Regions from separate parts of the Homo sapiens genome. Here region 1 is linked to region 2. Evidence: promoter capture Hi-C in human tissues and cell types (Jung and others, 2019). All regions are on one chromosome and are shown on one strand. The core of a region is centred on a gene start or on the middle of the fragment in contact, and the rest is flanking DNA. Distances in the headings are between cores, read along the strand shown. Region 1 has its middle 220 kb from the start of DYSF. Region 2 holds the start of SPR (sepiapterin reductase).

Evidence for each region. Contacts are between HindIII fragments. The study calls those that stand out against the background at their distance.
Region 1: a contact is called between a fragment that was not itself captured here and the fragment with the promoter of SPR in region 2, in 1 of the 25 tissues and cell types used here (heart left ventricle).

What each region holds. Positions count from the first base shown.
Region 1 is chr2:71,690,223-71,693,006 of GRCh38, forward strand. No RefSeq gene overlaps it. Among named protein-coding and RNA genes, the nearest start is that of DYSF, 220 kb to the left of the region's middle. The HindIII fragment of the contact is 4,339 bases long and covers 1-2,784 here.
Region 2 is chr2:72,885,988-72,888,687 of GRCh38, forward strand. SPR (sepiapterin reductase) reads left to right here and starts at 1,421. Exons shown (of 3, transcript NM_003124.5): 1 at 1,421-1,749; 2 at 2,327-2,617. The coding sequence starts at 1,446. RefSeq lists silencers at 1,273-1,662, 2,301-2,475. The HindIII fragment of the contact is 16,003 bases long and covers 581-2,700 here.

The DNA.
Region 1 (2,784 bases), core at 84-2,583, 1.2 Mb before region 2:
CTGATAGAAGTAAATTACCTTGAGGAAGGGGCACCTTTTTCTAATTCACACAAGGGCACAATCTAGCCTTGGTGGTTAAATCTGTGGGCGCTCACCCTTCACGACTCAGCTGTGGCTGACAGCACGGACGTTCTCTGCTTCTTGATCAACCTTCTGTCTGTACCCAGCTTCTGTGATACCACAGTCGCCTGGTGGTCCTCCTCTCCCTGTGGCTTGGCGTCCCTCTCTGTTCGTCTGTGATGTTCCCCAGGTCTCTTTCCCTGGCGCTGTTCTCGTATTGTATGGCTCCTAGGCACCCTCACCTGCCCCACTTTCTCTGCCTTCTACAGGTGAATGAACCCGGAATCCCTCACTGTAGCCCAGTTTCTCCCCTCCGCTGCAGGCGCCTTAGTGTACTGCTTACGCACTGGCACTATGAACTCAAACCCTCCCACTCAAAGTCTCCATCCTCCACCCCATTATAAAACTCCTGCTCTATTTTTCCCTCCACCCATCTAGTCCCTGGAGCTGCACTTGTGGGAGGCATCCTTGAGGCCTATCGCCTCTTACTCCTCATATCCAACACATCACCAAATCCCACAAATTCTGCTTCTTGAATCTGAGTCAAGCTACTTCTTTTCCCATTACCACCATCTCCACTTATGATCAGGCCCCTAGCAGGCCAACGTCATTGAAACCCAAATGCTACTGCCTTTGGCCATTCCTCTCTCTCAGATCTTCCCTGCGTGGTTCTCCACTGCCCTCAGGAGGGAGGCCAGCCCTGCTCGCTCTCCCTGCTCACCTCTTGCCTTTCCTTCTGCCGTGCCCATCTCTTGGGTCTCAGCTTGGCCCTTTCCTCCGGGTGTTCCCCCTGTCCTGCCCTGGTGCCTGTCTGCCACACTCAGTCAACGCGGTCCCTCTTCGGTTACAGGGCTTGTTAACACTCCATTGAAACCGGCAGACTTGACTGTCCCACCCCCACCCCTGGAGTCTGCGCCTCCAGGGCTGAAATCACATCTCAATTCTTAATGAGATGTCTGCTTCCTTCACTGAAGGGACTTTACTAAGTGTTTCATTGCAAGTTTTCTTTAAATAGCCAGGCTCTCAGAGCCATTTCAAATAGGGTTTTATGTTCCTAAATTCAGTTAGTTCTCAACATTTGAGACCAATTCTTGCAGCAAGGTGGAGAATAACTCTCATCTGTGAAAGAAAAGCGGTTCAATAAAGCTTGATAAGCCTTTTGTATCCGGAATACTCAGTTCCCTGCCTTTATTTTGTCTGCTGGTGTTTTTGAGAGATTACACACACACACACACCATTTTCTGCTCCTTTTCCAGGGCTGTGTGGATAGTCCAGGATGGGGTGATGTCTGCTGGTGTTTTTGAGAGATTACACACACACACACACCATTTTCTGCTCCTTTTCCAGGGCTGTGTGGATAGTCCAGGATGGGGTGATGGGAGCGTGGACAGACAGAAAGGGCTCTGAGTGTAGCCCCTGCTGTCCAGCCCACAACCCCTCCCCAGTTTGCCTCCACCCCCAGGGAACTCAAACTTGTCTCAATCCTCTCTCCATGTGTTTCATAAATTTAGGATTATGGGATTTCCAGAGGAGCCAGGTGGGCATCCCCTGACTGGGACCCGGTGACAGCCCAGGAAACGTTTCCTGCTTTGGAAAGAGAACTGGGTGAGGGCAAGGGTTCACCCCGACACACGAGGTCCTCACACGGCTGCGAGCTATTGAAATGAGTGACGCCAACCTTCCCCTCTCCCCTTTCCCCATGTGCTTTTGTTCCTCCCTCCAGGGAAAAATAGCTACGGCTCCTATTCCCTGTGGCTTGGCCCAGCATGGCTTGCAGACTCTGTTTCTCTGCCTTTGTTTTGGTCTCGGTTTTTCATGGGGTCGGGGGTGTGTGTGCGACAGAGAGACAGCAGATGAGGCAGATGCAGAGAGAAACAGACTCATGGTGAGGGGCAGAGACAGAATGACAGTGGCAGCCGGGGACAGGAACAAGACCAAGAACCTCACGCAATCGCCGGAGCATTTCCTCCACGTGCTCCTCATCCAGGCAGCTCCGGAGCCACACCATTCTGCTGGCGCCCAGGCTTACCGCTTGCCCCTGCTGGCCGGTTCTCCCTGTTTCCACCACCCGCCTAGCCTGGAGCCTGCCTCTGCTTCATGCTCTTCGGACTCCCTCCTCAGACTCCCACCTCGCATTCCTGTGGGGGATCGGGGCCCCCCTGGGGGGACTTTGTGGAGCCCACTTGTGTCCTCATTGAGCTCAGGTCTAGGTAGGACACTCTTCCCTTTACGTCAACAGAGGTGTTCTGGGATCTTTTCTAAAGGAACTTGACCGAGAACCAAGGGCAAAACAAAAGAGCGAAATACACAAATCACTCACATGTATAAAGGGTAATACATTTTTAAAATACCTGCTGGTGTATTTTGCCTCTTTGTGATCTGTTTTTCCCTCTCCCTCCCCTGGAGCACTTTTACCATCCGGGCTTACTGCCTGTAGAAGAGGACGAGGTCAAAGATGCCTCAGGATACAGAAGACAGAAAGATACCCTGAAACCCCAGGAAAAGTGCCCCTCTCAGCTCTCATTGGAGCCACTGGCCTGGGAGCTCTCCCCCAACCTTGCAGATCCAGATGCAGCTAGGAGGCTCCGTGTGGCAGCAGCACATCAGGGCCAAAGCCTTCTTCAGTCTAAAAAGGGATTCCCAGCCTAACAGATGCCTGGACGGCAGAGATCTTCCTCCAGCCTGGTGGTTAAGGGCATGAAGTTTGGAATCAGTCACACAGTG
Region 2 (2,700 bases), core at 171-2,670:
CTGTCTTCTAAGGCCTGGAGAGCAGGGAGAAGCTATTAAAATTCTTTAAATAGTAAGCTGTTGGGCCAATGAGATCTTTATCTTCAGTGTGAATAGGTAAGTGAAAAGCAGGGCAACTTCAAATGGTATACACATATACAGAGTCTTATCAGCGTTAAAATACCAAAAGCTTAAAAAACAATTAGCCAGGCGTGGTGGTGCGCACCTGTAATCCTAGCTACTCAGGAGCCTGAGGTGGAAGGATTGCTTGAGCCCAAGAATTCAAGGCTGCAGTAAACTGTGATCACACCTCTGCACTTCAGTTTGGGCCACAGAGCGAGACTCTGTCAAAAAAAAGAAAAAAGAAAAGAAAAAAGCCTTCCTCCAAGTTGTTTCTTCCTTAGAGTTGGCAATAATAGTGGAAAGGCGGTAACTTTGCTGTTTAGCCCCAGGGGAGGGATCAGCCCTGTGGGGAATTGGGCTAAGTTATCAGAGGTTACTTACTGCCCTTGCTAAACTCTAAAGAGATTCGTTTTTTAAAAACTGACACACAATATTTGGACATATGTATATACACAATGGAATACCACTCGGCCACTAAGAAGGAAACCATGAAGAGATTCCTTTTTAATATATGTAGCTGCATGCCAACTTGTCTCACGTTCCTCCTCTCCTAGAAAAAAAAAAATGTGGATTTTTCTGAAGCACCTGCCTGGAGGTACAGACAGATGATTGCGCAAACTTGAAGCTGAAAGTGGATGGAATTGCTGCCAGGGAGACTGTAGCATGAGCAGGAGCAGAATCCTGGGGAACACACTTTTAGGGACAGGAGTCAGAAATCTCAGAGAAGCAGGGGTTACTGGTGGGATCACGGAGCTGCTCAGGGCCTAGTAAAAGGGAAAGGTTTTAATATCATTTGGAGCCACTGTGGTTCTCCCAGAGGAAGCTCCTGTCATCCAGAGAGCGGTGAGCTCCCAAACAAGCAGAGACTTCAATTCCTAAACAGGCATAAGCTTCATTCAGGGTGTTCACTGGCCACGACCAGGGACGCCCAGCACCCAGTGCAGGGCCTGCCCTGGAAGAGGTCAGTAGTGCAAAGTTAGGGCTGGAACTGGGAGGAAATTCGAGCATGCGTCCCAGCCGGAGGCTGAGCTTGCGGGCGAAGAACACGGCAGCGCTGGGAACCGGGCTAGGGCTTTCCGTGTGGGCCGCGCCTGCCGGCCCTCTCTGTTGTCCCACTTGGCACGGACTGGGCTACCGCCACGGTTTGACTTCCGCCACCAGCAACCAAGGGAACCAGATCCCAAGGGAACCAGCACCCCTGGGCGCTCGCGGCCCGAAGCCTGAGGTTCCCGCCCCGCCCCGGCAGGGCGGCCCCGCCGACACCCGTAGCGGTCCCGCCCCCCGCGGCCGCACCGCCTCCTGCCTGGTCTCGGGTGCCAGCGCCGCCGGCGGAGAACAGGAGCATGGAGGGCGGGCTGGGGCGTGCTGTGTGCTTGCTGACCGGGGCCTCCCGCGGCTTCGGCCGGACGCTGGCCCCGCTCCTGGCCTCGCTGCTGTCGCCCGGCTCCGTGCTTGTCCTTAGCGCCCGCAACGACGAGGCACTGCGCCAGCTGGAGGCCGAGCTGGGCGCCGAGCGGTCTGGCCTGCGCGTGGTGCGGGTGCCCGCCGACCTGGGCGCCGAGGCCGGCTTGCAGCAGCTGCTCGGCGCCCTGCGCGAGCTCCCCCGGCCCAAGGGGCTGCAGCGACTGCTGCTTATCAACAACGCGGGTAAGACCCCGGGGCTGGAGCGGACTCCCCATGTGAGCGCCCACTTCCTCCACCGCTGGGGAATTTAAGGGCTACTCCTAGGGGTCAGATAGGACGCCTAGAAATCTAAAGCCCTAGTTGTTCCAGCTTGAGTAGCAAGTGGAGGCGAGGTGTACAGGAAGACTCGGTGCCGTCGGGACAACAGTCTGCCCCCACTTCCTGGAAAATTGGCCAGCCGGGTTTTCCAAAGCGCCTGTAGAACTTTCCCGAGCCCCTTGCTCTGCGCCCTCTGGCGGAGGCCTGAGTCAGGGCTTGGAGTCTCCAAACAAGTAAACTCTCTGCTTCTCCAAAGGACCGCTAGAGCTTTCCTTCAGCCCCACGGCAAGGCAGGTGCCTTCTCATTCTGCAGCTTGGGATGGCTAGGTTCCCCAGCTGTGTCTTTCCGCAGAGCTGGGGAAGAGAGAAGCCTCTTCAGAAGCGCTAGGCAGCTTCCTCCTCTAGGTCTGCATGGGAAGAGGATATCTGGAGGAACTTGGGAGGGCTGGGGAAGAAGAAAGCCCCGCCTGCACTGAGTTACTCCTAAGGGTTGGTTTTTCAGGCTCTCTTGGGGATGTGTCCAAAGGCTTCGTGGACCTGAGTGACTCCACTCAAGTGAACAACTACTGGGCACTGAACTTGACCTCCATGCTCTGCCTGACTTCCAGCGTCCTGAAGGCCTTCCCGGACAGTCCTGGCCTCAACAGAACCGTGGTTAACATCTCGTCCCTCTGTGCCCTGCAACCTTTCAAAGGCTGGGCGCTGTACTGTGCAGGAAAGGCTGCTCGTGATATGCTGTTCCAGGTCCTGGCGCTGGAGGAACCTAATGTGAGGGTGCTGAACTATGCCCCAGGTAGGTGGGAAGTCCTGCCGTCCCTGTCCTCCAGAACCCACTGGTGCGCCTCTGGGGGCTGGGCAAGCGGCCTAGTCCGCCCC